2 separate regions of the Homo sapiens genome follow, and region 1 is linked to region 2. The links are contacts of gene promoters, found by promoter capture Hi-C in blood cells and fetal thymus (Javierre and others, 2016). All regions are on one chromosome and are shown on one strand. Each heading gives the region's core, a stretch centred on a gene start or on the middle of the fragment in contact. The rest is flanking DNA. Distances are from core to core; before and after follow the strand shown.

Region 1 (7,224 bases), core at 480-2,979, 110 kb after region 2:
GCACTTTGGGAGGTCGAGGCGGGTGGATCACGAGGTCAGGAGATCGAGACCATCCTGGCTAAAATGGTGAAACCCCGTCTCTACTAAAAATACAAAAAATTAGCTGGGCTTGGTGGCGGGCACCTGTAATCCCAGCTACTCGGGAGGCTGAGGCAGGAGAATGGCGTGAACCCGGGAGGCGGAGCTTGCAGTGAGCCGAGATCGCATCACTGCACTCCAGCCTGGCCGACAGAGCGAGACTCCGTCTCAAAAAAAAAAAAAAACCCTGGTGGGTGGTGACTTGTTAAAAAAAGAAATAAAAGATGTAGACAAAAGATGATTTTATCTATTGTCAGAAAATATCCTGAATTATCACTTTAAAAAAATATATAAATGTAGTAACATTCACATATTCAAATCTAAAAATAAAAAAGGCTCTGAGGAACTAAGAACAAGGACTTAACACTGAACCCATGAGGTTTTCCCCCCTGCATAAAGCCTTCAAATTTCAAATAACATTAAACTTTGCCATCTGTTACCTCAGCAATGCTAAGTTCAGTAATAGTAGATTAATAAAAGTTCAGTAACAGGACATTAAGGAGGCAGAGGGACTCCAAAAAGCATTAAGAAAAATTTGATCTCTAGTTAATATATTCTGTTTAATAAGACAAGGAAGCAAATAAAAGCTTGCATATTTATAAAATGAAAGTTAAAGGCAGCATGATTTAAGGAACGCTGAACTGTGAGAGAGAAAAAAAAAAGTTTTCTTGAATTTGCCATTGTTCGTTGTATTAGGACTGGAAGGAAGGAAGGATGGATGTTTCACAACCTGTGGGTGAACTCTCAACCCTGCTCCCCCACATGACTGACTATGGCTTAAATACTGATATCATTTGTGTTGCATTATTGCTTGTAATTAAGAGTTTTTATTTATTTATTTGTTTGCTTTGAGACAGGGTCTCACTCTGTTGCCCAGGCTGGAGTGCAATGGTGTGATCATAGCTCACTTCAGCCTCCACCTCCTGGACTCAAGTGATCCTCTCGCCTCAGGCTCCTGAGTAGCTGGGGATGCAGGTGTGCACCACCACGCCTGGCCAGTTTTTTTATTTTTGTAGAGACAGGGTCTCCCTATGTTATACCAGGAATGGAAGCAGACAAGGGGAAAGTCAGAATGAGCAAACAAGTTCAAGAGTAAGCTGCTGCTCCCAAGACGTGCAGGAGCCTCGCCTGAACTCAAGCAGGAACATTAATCATCGAGACACCACTTCCATGGGTTACGGTAGTGAAGGGAACTTAGTGAAACTTCAGTAGGATCAGAGGAAACAGAAAAAAGAGGCTCATGTTCCTGGACCCAGAACAAAGCCCCAGATTGGGAATGGTATAGCTAAAAGAATAAGGAATTGTGACCACATGGAATTGGCTTTCACTCCTATGGTATCAATAGTTACTTGTGTGAAGACCTTAGGTAGGCATTGGTTTAGTATGTAAAATTAAACTAACTTTAAGGATCTCTGAGTCCTTGAACAGGTTAGGCTGCAACAGCTGGGCAAATTAATCTAGATCTTAGGGATTTCTACATAAAAATTAACTGCTAAAGTGGACAAGCAGACTCCATGGCGTATATATCTCACTGGCCTCTTGAATACACATCTGAGGCCTGCTTATAGGTCTATATCACTCCAAGTCTCAGATGTTCTGAATCAGTCAATGGCCAATGTTTCATTTCATGAGGCACCTGCTATTCAAGCCAGTGGCAAAAAAAATGGCCCAAAGAGATTCTCAGCAGTACGTAAGAAACAGCTGCCCCAGTGGGCTCAGGCAAAAACAAACAAACAAAAAAAACGTTTTTTACTTGTCTTTCCTCCACTTAGTGTAGCCCCTCTAATGCACATGTTGCCATAAAATTTGCTGTGAAACATACATCTGATCACCAAGATGTCCCTTCAGCCTCTCATGGAGGATGCATTCCAATGTGGTCTCTGCCCCTCTCCAGCCACTTGCCAGGATACCTTTCATTCTGACCCCAGTGGTGGTTCTCTCACACTTTCTCGTGCCTCTCTGCCAGGGTTTGAGCTATCCCCCTGACTAGAGAATACCTGATACCCCAACCCACCAGGGCCTCAAACACAAACCTAAGAACTCCTCATCCCCAAGTTTCAGCTCCAGGGTCCCCTTCTGATGCCTTCTCTGAGTACTGCAACTCCAGTGCTCTGCCCTCCTCCTGCTCCACTTTTCTCCTGACACCCAAGCCTCTCTTCCTCTATGGCAGCACTTCTCACAGGGGGCTGGAATCATTCGTTTTCTCATCAGTCCTTCCCATCAGTATGTGAGCCTCTCCTGTGTGGGGGTCATGTCTTTCCCCTCTATTTCCGTGACCTAACACACCTGGCTCCCCATGGCAGGTGAGTTGTCACTGCTCCCACTGCTCCCGGAGCCATTCCTGGATGTCTCTTCAACCCCCTGGCTGATGTACCTGCCCCTGCTTGCCCTGTGCAAGGTGTCCTTCACCCAAAGGCAGCTTCTCCTCTCCCCCTGCCATGCCTTTTCCACGCCAACCAAAGATTTCAAGGACAGAATTATACTGCGAACATTCTAACAAGACTCATAAGATGTTAAAGCTGAAGGGGCCCTTGGAAACTATCTGGTCCAGGGGCTTCCAAATGCCTGTCTGAAGGCCGCTGCTGGACAGACTGCAAAAGAGTAACATGGGGAATGACTTAAAAATACAGATACACAGGCTCCACCATGAAAATTCTGATTCAATATGTCTAGGATGGATTCCTGCTTTTTGGTTGTTTTTTTTTTAAAGCTTCCCAGGTGATTCCACTGCACCGGTCTAGTCCAAACTCTTCATTTTTTATACATGGAGAACTGAGGCTCAGAGAGGGGAACAGTCACCAAATGCTAAGACTTATGACTGGCACTGAGGGCACAAAGCTGAAGGCCCAGACCCTGCTCTTGAGCACCTACACATACATAATCCACTGGAAACATCTGTGGGCACCACTGAGGCTCATCAAGGGCACAGAATTCCTACAGAAGTCACCTCACTCTCCCTTTTGCTCCCTTTTGCTTTATTTATTCTTCCTCACATCATAATTTTCTACCTGTACTGTAGTTTACTGAACATTTCAGTAAAGTGTTCTCTTTCCTGCTATTTTATAAGCCCCTCAGTAGACATTCACTAAATTATTGTTATTTCTAGATTTGGATCTCTACTTGGATATCTAATAGGCACCTCAGATCTACTATGTCTAAAATCTAGCTCTTGATTTCCTCCTACAGCCTTCCGCATTTCAGTAAATGACAATGCCATTCTTCCAGCTGCTTAGGCCTAAACCTCTCTTTCTTTCACACCCTTCATCCAATCCACAAGCACATCCTGTCAACTCAACCTTCAAAATATATTCAAGTCCAGCCATTTCTCACCACCTCTACCATCATCTCTCTCCTGTGTTCCCACAAAAGCCTGCCAACTGATCTTCTTGCTTCCACCCTTGCCTCTACTAGTCATTCCCAACACAGCAGCCAGAGTATTGCTTTTGAAACATACGTTGCCACTGGGCACAGTGGCCCATGCCTGTAGTACCAGCTACTCAGGAGGCTGAGGTAGGAGGATCACTTGAGCCCAGGAATTTGAGGCTGCAGTGAGCCAGGAATGCACCTGAGGATAGCCACTGCACTCCAGCCTAGGCAACACAGTGAGACCCCATCTCAAAAAATAATAAGATAATTTAAAAATCTTAAAGCACACATCACATCATGTCCCTACTCTCTTCAAAACCCTTCAACACCATCCCATCTCCCTCAGAGTGAAATCCCATCTTTCCCACAGCCTCCACAGCCGGGATGATCTCACTGCCCCCATCTCCTATGCCTCTCTCTCACCCAGTCTGTCCAGGCACACAAAGGCCTCCTTACGTTCCTCAGGCATGCTGGTCATGCTCCATTCTGAGCCTCTGCAGTCACCACTCCCTCTGCTTGAAACATTCTCCCACCAGATCTCGGTGGGCTCACTTCCTCACTTCTTCAGGCCTTTAATCCAATGTCACTTTGTCAGGAGCCTTCCATGACCGTTCTACATGAGACACCAATCCCCAACCCAACCATCAATCTTTATCCCTTTACACTGCTTTATTTTCTTCCCAGCACTTATCACCACCTAGCATATATTATGTAATTGTTCATTACCTTCTTGTCTTTCTGTAAATTCCAGTGTGTTTACAGGAAGGTAATCCACCATTAGAAAGAAGGAACAGGCCAGGCACAGTGGCTCATGCCTATAATTCCAGCACTTTGGGAGGCAGAGGTGGGCTGATCACCTGAGGTCAGGAGTTCAAGACCAGCCTCACCAACATGGTGAAACCCTGTCTCTACTAAAAATACAAAAATTAGCCAGGCATGGTGGTGGACACCTGTAATCCCAGCTACTCAGGAGGCTGAGGCAGGAGAATTGCTTGAACTCAGGAAGTGGAGGTTGCAGTGAGCCACGATCGTGCTATTGCACTCCAGTCTGGGCAACAGATGGACACCATGTCTCAAAAAAAAATAAAAGAAAGGAGGAAGAACAATTTGACAAGCTCATTTGTCCAGAATTAAGATTGTTCAAGATAATCACAGATTCCCAAGTGGGCTTATTATGAATCAAACATTTTGCAAATATGCAAATTTTTGTTTCACTTTTTAAAATTTTAGAGAGACCTTCAGTGGTTATGGGACCTCGCCAGTGGGAAGGGGTCTACCTAAAGTACCCTTGTCTATGAATCCTGGATCCCTGTAATGGCTGATTAAATTAAATATTTTATCAGTGGGGGGTGCCTATTGGCCGATGTCCCATAAGGTCATTTGTTTTGAGGATGGGATCAGTGTGACACCAGAGGAAAGAAAAGGCTAGCTCTGAGAACCATAGGGAAGAGGTAGGTACAGGGTGGGAATGAGTCTTAAGAAAAAAAGACACAAAAGGCTGGGCACGGTGGCTCATGCCTGTAATCCCAGCACTTTGGGAAGCTGAGACAGGTGGATGACTTGAGGTCAGGAGTTCAAGACCAGCCTGGTCCACATGATGAAACCTTGTCTCTACTAAAAATACAAAAATTAGCCAGGTGTGGTGGTGCACACCTGTAATCCTAGCTACTTGGGAGGCTAAGGCAGGAGAATCGCTTGAACCCAGGAGGCAGAGGTTGTAGTGAGCTGGGATCGCGCCACTGCACTCCAGTCTCCAGCCTGGGCGACAGAGCACAACTGTCTCAAAAAAAAAAAAAAAAAAAAGAAAGAAAGAAAGAAAGAAAAGGAAAGAAGATAAGAAGATACTGGCTAGGCACTATGGCTCGTGGCTGTAATCCCAAGCGTGAGGCCAAGGCAGGTAGATCATTTGAGGCCAGGAGTTCAATACCAGCTGGGCAACATGGCAAAACCCCATCTCTACAAAAAAAAAAAATTAAAATTAAAATTAAAATTAGCTGGGCGTGGTGGCACATGTCTGTAGTCCCAGCTACTCAAAAGGCTGAGGTGGGAGGATTGCTTGAGCCTGGGAGGTTGAGGCTGCAGTGAGCTGTGATTGCACCATTGCACTCCAGGGTAGGTGACACAGCAAAACCCTGTCTCAAAAAAAAGAAAAGAAAAGAAAAGAAACAAATAAAAAAAAAGAAAATACAAGTCCGTGAACAAACTGAAATACCATTGAATTGTGCACTTTAAATGGGTAAATTGTATGGCATGTGAATTATATCTCAATAAAGCTGCTATATTTTTTAAAAGATAGAAAAAGACAGAACTGGAGGGAGCTGGGATTATACAAGACAATAAAACTGACTGGGACAAGCAGAAACTAGGCATAGGCAGCAAGCACAGTTTACACAGAGCTGACAATTTAGATACAAACTGATACTTTGTAACCCGTACCCCCTTTACCTTTCCTTCTTTGCAAACAGATCTCAGCAATAACCTAGCACCACACTTTGTTAGAAGGAAACAGGACCCAGAGATTTGAGAAAAAGGGGGACAGGACTCCTCTTGTTCACACACCATCCTGGTGTGTTCCTCCCAGTAAACTTTGTAAATGCATCATCTCTTGGTAGTGGGGACCCCTAAATTTAAGCAAGAAGCCAGCAGCCTCAGACCTGCTGGGAACCAAGCCTCAACTTCCGACGCAAAGGACCCTAGAAAACAGTGTTGGCCGGGTACGGTGGCTCACATCTGTAATTCCAGCACTTTCGGAGGCCGAGGCGGGCGGATCGCCTGAGCTCAGGAGTTCGAGACCACCCAGGCAACATGGTGAAACTAAAAATACAAAAAATCTCTACAAAAATACAAAAAAATTACTAAAAATACAAAAAAATTAACCGGGTGTGGTGGTGTACGCCTCTAGTCCCAGCTACTTGGGAGGCTGAGGCAGAAGAATCACTTGAGCCCCAGAGGCGAAGGCTGTAGTGAGCCGAGATCACGCCACTGCATTCCAGCTTGGGCTACGGAATGAGACTCCATCTCGGAAAAACAAAAAGAAAACAGAAAGTGGCCATTTCACAGGATCACTCTTTCTTTGGTGGTTTTGAGGGTGCCACCAGTCTTATCTACCACAGACAACCTACAGTTCCAAAGCTTCCTAAACTGACAGGTCTGGAGGGACACGAGGAGCATGCTATTACTCTTAGAGGCATCCCTATGGTTGCCTTAGATCACCACAGGAGTTTACGAGCTGGTGAGTCAAAGGGCTGGTAAAGTTTCTCTCCCAAGTGTTCTGTTCTTATTCCCCTTTTCTTACACACACACACACACACACACACACACACACACTCTTTCTCATCCTCTCTCCCTCTATTCCTTCCTCCACGGTACACTTTCTCTCCCTCTCTTCTCTTCCCCTGTCCTCTCTCTCTCTGTCTCTCTATCCGCCCCCCAACTCTCCAGCTCCTGCTCTCTCCCTCATGCCTCTCTTCCTCCCTCTTCTCTCCTTCCCCTCTCAACAGAGATCTGGGTGTGCTCTTTCACCATGACTGCTCAGACCTGAGGGAAGCCAGCCTTCAGCAAGAAAGTAGGGCCCCAGCCAAAGCAGCCTTTCACCAACAATCCAGCATGGCAACGGATCCAATATCCAGGTGTTCTGTATGTGCCTATTGTATGTCCCTGGTGATCCAAGGGAATGATAACCTAACATGTCCCTATGTGCCTTCCTATGATTAGACAAATGGACTATTAAGAGCCTTCACATAGTGAAATGTTTACAGATAAAATGATGTGACATTTGGA
Region 2 (6,954 bases), core at 4,298-6,797:
TCCCTGCCTCCAGGGCTCAGGAGGAAGTTCACTGAAAAGGCAGAACCTCATCAACATACAGAAATGTGGCCGGTGGGGGGGCGCGGTGGCTCACACCAGTAATCCCAGCACTTTGGGAGGCCCAGGAGCGTGGATCACTTGAGCCCAGGAGTTCAAGACTAGCCTGGGCAACATGACAAACCCCTTCTCTACCAAAAACACAAAAATTAGCCAGGCATGGTGGCGTGCGCCTGTAATCCCAGCTGCTCAAGAAGCTGAGGCAGGAGAATCTCTTGAGCCCAGGAAGGGTTCGTGCCACTGCACTCCAGCCCAGGCAACAGAGTGAGACCTGCCTAAAAAAAAAAAAAGAGAGAAAGGAAGGAAGGAAGAGAAAGCAAGCAAGCAAGAAAGAAAGAGAAAGAAAGAAAAAAGAAAAGAAAGAAGGAAGGAAGAGAGAAAGAAAAGGAAGGAAGGAAGGAAGGAAGGAAGGAAGGAAGGAAGGAAGGAAGGAAGGAAGGAAAGAAGGAAGGAAGGAAAGAAGGAAGGAAGGAAAGAAGGAAGGAAGGAAAGAAAAGAAAAAGGAAAAGAAAAGAAAAGAAAAACATGGATGGCTGCCTCCCCTCCCCTGTCGTTCATCCACCTGCCCATGGGACACACATTGAGTAGACGCCCACTCAATGCTAATTGGAATCCACCCACCAGCTGCCATTTTAAGGAGCCTCACCTCCTCTCAGTCCCCACCTCCCACCTCCTCCTGAGAGGGTGGAGGAGGCATTCTTCCCATATCCCCTGCCCAGGCAGAGAGACGGAATCCCTCCCCCACCACCACCCCCTGCCCATCACGGTGTCCTCAGCTCCGGATCTGGCCAACAAGGACCCAGATGGCCCAGGCATCAGGAGGTGGAGTTCTATGCTCACCTCAGACACTCGCTGCCTATGCCATCCTGGCTGGTCCCTTCCCCTCTCTGGGCTTCTACCTCCCTGTGTAAAATCAGGGACCTTGCCCAGTTCAGGATTTTTAACCGGAGTCTTCAGACTCCCCGAGGTACCCCAGAGACTGAATGGGGGTAGAAGGCAGAAGGGGGAGGTTGAGAGGGAGGCCTGGCTGGTTCAGGGCAGGCCCCACGGTACATACTGGGGTTCCTGATGGGATTTCGTTTCAGCTGTTCAAAAGCAGGTGGGGAGCCTGTGACTTGGCTCACCCTCGAGGCTCATGTGCCTGTGCGTGTTGGCTAAAGCGCCTTTATTCCTCCCTTCAACAAAGGTTCACGTCCCCCCAACTCCCATCCGCCAGGAGGCCCGGCTCCCCATCCTGTTCCCAAGCAGCCTCCACCCCAGGCCCGCCCTTGTCTCTCCAGAGATCACCTACCATCTGGAGAAGGGCTTCGGCGCCGCCTCGCTCCAGCTGCTCCTGATCTCTGCGGGGCTCAAGTCACTCCTAGGGAGCTGGCCTTCCTCCTACAGCCCGCAGGGAGCCGTCAGGTCGGCCTGCCCCTTACCCACCCCCAGGAACTTACAGCTGGGGGTCGGGGGCCACGGTGAGACCCTGGCTGAGGAGGGGACTGGGCTGGGGCACAGGGAGGAATTAGAAGGCTACTAAACTGGATTCTGCAAGGCAGGCACTGAGCACCTACTGTGTGCAGGGCTCTGCCAGACACATCTTGCCCTCAGCGAGCTCATGGTCTGCGCAGGGACAGACACCTGCGGCCCAGCTGTGACTGAGAGGGGCCGAGGGGAGGCCTGTAAGGGAGGCCCCAGGCAGGGCTACCTCATCACATGACCTCAGGGCACCATGCACCCACCGTCTGTGGAGCTGTTTTGGGTGGGGGGTGGGTATTCTTGCATATGACAGCGTGAAAGGAGCACCCCAAGAGACAAGGGCAGTGAAGGGGAGGGGGCTTTGTCAGAGGAGCCTGGGAGCGTGCAGGGTATCCTACCAGGCTCCGAGTTCTGGGTGGTGTGCCTCGACCTGACCTGGCCACTTGAAAGCAAGGACAAGGCTCCTTGAAGGCTGAGATTTCCTTAGAGACCCCCCTCCCCCATCATCTGGTTTTGATTCTCATTCTGTAGGTCACAGCTCTAATGTCACTTCCTCACTGGGGCCTGCCCTGCCCTTTCAGACTAGGACTTTCAGACTATAGTGCACACAGTACGTGCTCAGTCAATGTTTAATGAGTGAAATAAAGGGGTCTGCCTTGTGTTGAGGAGGCCAACACACTGGGAGGTTCATAACTGTGCCAGCAAAGAGGTGAGAAGGGGGCAGAAGAATGGGGTATGAGGGAAGGTGGTGAGCAAAAGCCTCATCACCTCGGCAGCCGGGCTCAAGCCAAAGAGGCTGAGGGGTCAGGATGACTGATGGGGAAGGGTACAGACCAGGCTTTCCAAGAAATCAGCCCCCATGTTCTCCAGACCCTTGGCCACAGGTGTGAGAGAGATGGACTCTCTTCGTCTCGAGGGGTCGTTCTCCATGTCCCAGACCTTCCAGCTGAAAGACAAATCAGGGAGCGCCCAACGCTGAAAGGGAGGCCGGGCAGGGCCCAGTTTAGGGGCCCGGGGAAAGGGGAGAGGACTGAGTGGGGGGAGCAGATGCCTGGCACAGCCAGAGCCCTGCCTGGGGGCCACCTATGCCATCCCAGAGCTCACCCCTCCTTGTGACTGGGACTGCAACCTTGACTTCTCAGCACATGGAGGAGGTACCTCTTCCTTTTTCTAGAGACTGGGTCTCCCTGTGTTGCACAGGCTGGCCTCCAACTCCTGGGCTCAAGCAGTCCTCCCACCTCAGCCTCCCAAAGTGTTGGGATTACAGGCGTGCGCCACCACCCCAGCCTGCACCCACATCTGAACCTGTAAGAGGCAAGTCCTTGTGAACTCTGGGAGTTCCAGGCAGAAACAGCAAATTCTGCCCACTTCATAGGGAAGGAAAGTAAAGAATTATATACAGCCTGCATATGTATCTGATACAGGCATTTTTCTGAAGAGAGGACCTAGCTTTCATCACTCCCTACAACTGGTTAAAACTATTACCATTAAGTGAGATCTTCAGTGTATTCTACTTTTCCATCTCTGAAAGATGGAGGTGCAACATCCTTAAAGGCATCATTCCAGTTCCTGGATCCAACTATACCTGAAACCAATCCTACTCCTGGACTTTCCATTGCAAGAATCAATATAGTTCATTTTTTGCTGAAGCTCAGTTCGTAGGCTTAAGCTCATCTGTAAATAAGAGTGGTAACTAACACCTCCTCTCTCCCTTCTCTTGTTCCCGCTCCTTTTTCTCCCCTTGGGTGGTGCCCTACTCCATCCAAATGCCAGCCCAGTTAGGCTGACATACTCAGAGACCCGTGCATGTGCGTGCACACACACAGGCAGAGCCTGGGAATGCCCTGGCTCACACACAGACGCACAGCAGCGCACACAGAAGCGGGGCCCTGTTTCTACTCACGTATTTGCGGTTAACAGGTCGCTCTCAGAGAGAGAGGGAAGCACACGTCTCTGTGGGGACAAGCTGGGTCCAACCTGCTTTGGCTCTGGCTTGCCTTGTCACTTCAGCAGAAATTCCTGGGCAGAGTCCAGGGTCGGAGTAGGTTGGGCCTGCCACCCAGTTCTGCCCAGCGCCTCCCCAGAGGCCAGGGCCACAGCCAGGGTGGGGACCCCAACACGGTCTCAGGGATACAGGAAGCAGGCCCACTTGCAACCTGGCTCCCTGCAGCTCCTGCCCACTGGCTGCTGCTTCTCCATCAGAGATGCCCTCCTCTGCCCTCTCCCCAGTTCCCAAACTGACCTCTTCCAGGCCTATTAGGGCCGCTTCTTCCAGGAAGCCACCTATGTGATTATTTCCCTCCCCCTCCTTCCTTCCCATGGCCTCCTTTCCCCAGCCAGGCTGTTAGCTTTTTGCATTTTATCTTTCATTTTGCATCTTTCTCTATCTCCCTTTCTCACTAGATGGGGATTTATTATAACAGCAACCAATTTTCCTGTGCTGGAAAATGAGGAAAGCAGTGTAGCTGTGAGAAATAGTAAAAGTGTTTCAGGTCTGTCAAGAAAACAAAACCAAATCACACCATTTCCCCTTCATTTCATCTTTGTTAAATGAATACCTAAGCCAACGGTGTGCAAAGCGAAGGGCTGAATGCTTTAGTTTTCCAGTCCTCACACTAAACATTAAACTCATCTGACGGGATTCACAACATCTCTTTAATAATTAATGGTACGCGCTCAGGACAAAATCCTCTATGATGCATAAATACTTGCTAGTACCGGCACCTCCTGGTTGTTTTGGAAGTTTGGAGAGGATGGTGGATGGACACCCCCTCTTTTTGAAAACATTTTTTCTTCATCTGTCATTTGAATTACCAAAGCATTACAAGTGTATCATTAAACATTTAAACATTAGAGAAATATACAGAATGAGGGAAGTTAAAGTCCCCGGAATCTGAGCCCTCAGGGATGACCACTATTGAGTTTGTGTGGCATTTTCCTCCTTTTTTTTTTTTTTTTTGAGACGGAGTTTCACTCTTGTTGCCCAGGCTGGAGTACAGTGGTGCGAGCTCGGTTCACTGCAACCTCCGCCTCCCAAGTTCAAGCGATTCTCCTGCCTCAGCCTCCCAAGTAGCTGTGATTACAGGCATGCGCCACCACACCTGGCTAATTTTGTATTTTTAGTAGAGATGGGGTTTCTCCATGTTGGTCAGGCTGGTCTCGAACTTCCAACCTCAGGTGGTCCACCCACCTTGGCCTCCCAAAGTGCTGGGATTACAGGCATGAGCCACCGCGCCTGGCCTTTTCTCCACTTTTTTTTTCCTAAATGTATGTTATTTTATGTTATTCATTTTCCAATAGGGGATCACACAGTAACAGTGTTCTCATAATTTGATTTTTCTAGCAGAGTTCCGCACACTGTTGAGAGCCCATGTGTTACCTTGATTGAAAACTAGCCACAGAGCAAGACTCTACCTTTAAAAAAAAAAAAGAGGGGGGGCACGGTGGCTCATGCCTGCACTCCCAGCACTTTGGGAGGCCAAGGTGGGCAGATCACTTGAAGCCAGGAGTTCGAGACCAGCCTGGCCAACATGGTGAAACCCCGTCTCTACTAAAAATACAAAAATTAGCCAGGCATGGTGGCAGGTGCCTGTAGTCCCAGCTACTCGGGAGGCTGAGGCAGGAGAATTGCTTGAACCCGAGAGGTGGAGGCTGCAGTGAGCAGAGATCACACCACTGCACTCCAGCCTCGGCAACAGAGCGAGACTCTACCTCAAAAACAGAAAAGAAACAAAAACTAAATGCCTCTGAGCAGCACTACTGTCTCCATGGGTGGCCACCACAGGGATGGGCCTGGAGCTGTCCTCGAAGGGGTCTTCGCCAAGCCCTAGTGAAGAAAAAAAGGACGCTACCTGCTTTTCCACTTTGCCCTGTGCTACCCCCTTCCCCTCCTTTCTTCAGTCCCGCCTTCCCTCCTCTCCTACTGTCCTTTTCTCTCACCCTTGTTTCTGTCAGCATCCAGAGGGAAGCCAGGAACACAACACATCCAGCAGCAACCATGCAGTGCAGCTTATAACCTTCACATCGTTGTGGGCCCTAATCTCTACAACAAGGATTTAATGGGCTGTGTGTCTTGGGGTGGACCTTGAGCTTGGAGCCCAAAGGTCTCCACTCCTGACTGCCAAAGTTAACTTGCTGCCTCATCTGGTGGTGGGTAATAGAGCACATGAGGAGTCAGCGTGCTCCTGCTTAGGAAGTACCTGGCAGGGAGTCAAGCGGCATCAGGCTGGCAGGTGTCATTGCTGTCACAGGTCCCATCCGGGGTGTCCTGACACACTGCTCCCCTCCTCCAGGCCAGGAGACTCCGGGCTTCTCCCCTGCTCCTCCTCTCAAGGAGGCATGGCCAGCAGGGATCCCAGACCCCAGAAGCCAAGCGGTCTTTTCAGGTGGAATGTGGCAAAAAGCCACAGGCTGGGGAGTTGGGAGGCTGGATAGATTGGGGTGGAGACCCCAGGGAAAGACCAACAGCTGGAGGACCTCAGGTGTCCCGGCTGTGCCCCTCCAGCTGTGGGACCTCAGCATGTCCTTGGGCTTCTTGGTGGCCTGTTTCCTAAGGAGACAGCCTCTGAGGCCCGGCACACCCGCAGACGCCCGCTGAGTGAGACCTAGAGCTGAGCCAGGCCAGGGCAGAGTGGGGAGAGGACCACATAAATATACATAGATAATTTCCCTCACCATCCAGCAGAGCTCAGAAGGGTTGACAGTAAAGGGGCTGCTCCACCCCTCCAACTCTATCCCATTCCTCAGAGGCAACCACCTAACTTTTCTGGTTTTAGTTCTTCTGCAGGCCACCTCCTGTTTTAGGGAATTATTAGTCAAAGAGTTGGAGAGGATCCCTTCTCGCCAGGCTCTGACATAATAGGTTATTTTATAAGTAGTGAGTGAAACATTCAAAAAGCACAAGAACTGTCAGAAGAGTTGCTCAGCAATCTCTTTATTTTCTTCTCATGATTCTGCCCACACTCATTTCTTAGCTCTTCACAGGCGAGGTCTCTTTCATTGCATCGATTCGTGTATCCAAGCACTGGACAAATAAAGAGGCTTATCACTCGTCAAGTTCCATGAACATGACCTCATCATTCTTCTCTCCTAAACCTGGGATGATTGGCAGAAAGGGCATCCATACAACTTTTTCTTCTGCATTTGGCATTGAAAAATGGACTTCCCGTAGTCTGTAGTAGAAATATTGGAAAGTAGCAATAATCCTAGCACTTTGGGAGGCCAAGGCAGGTAGATCGCTTGAGCCCAGGACTTCAAGACCAGCCTGGGCAACACAGGGAGACCCTGTCTCTACAAAAAATAGAAAAAATTAGACAGGTGTGGTGGCGTGCACCTGTAATCCCAGCTACTCAGGAGGCTGAGGTGGGAGGATCATTTAAGCCTGGGAAGTCAAGGCTGCAGTGAACCATAATCACACCACTGCACTCCAGCCTGGGC

The links. The method cuts DNA at HindIII sites, captures the fragments that hold promoters and counts their contacts. A CHiCAGO score of 5 or more calls a contact.
Region 1: a fragment that was not itself captured here is called in contact with the fragment with the promoter of SLC28A1 in region 2 in 3 of 17 cell types (M1 macrophages, M0 macrophages and M2 macrophages); the score reaches 6.3 in M1 macrophages.

The regions. Positions count from the first base shown.
Region 1 is chr15:84,766,254-84,773,477 of GRCh38, reverse strand. The region is part of intron 2 of ZNF592 (zinc finger protein 592); the gene reads right to left. Among named protein-coding and RNA genes, the nearest start is that of ZNF592, 21 kb to the right of the region's middle. RefSeq lists enhancers at 6,389-6,888, 6,889-7,224. The HindIII fragment of the contact is 2,123 bases long and covers 668-2,790 here.
Region 2 is chr15:84,883,255-84,890,208 of GRCh38, reverse strand. SLC28A1 (solute carrier family 28 member 1) reads right to left here and starts at 5,547. Exons shown (of 19, transcript NM_004213.5): 1 at 5,458-5,547; 2 at 3,422-3,537; 3 at 2,353-2,464; 4 at 1,349-1,437. The coding sequence starts at 2,448. RefSeq lists enhancers at 1-532, 5,467-5,967, 5,968-6,468. The HindIII fragment of the contact is 20,311 bases long and covers 1-6,954 here.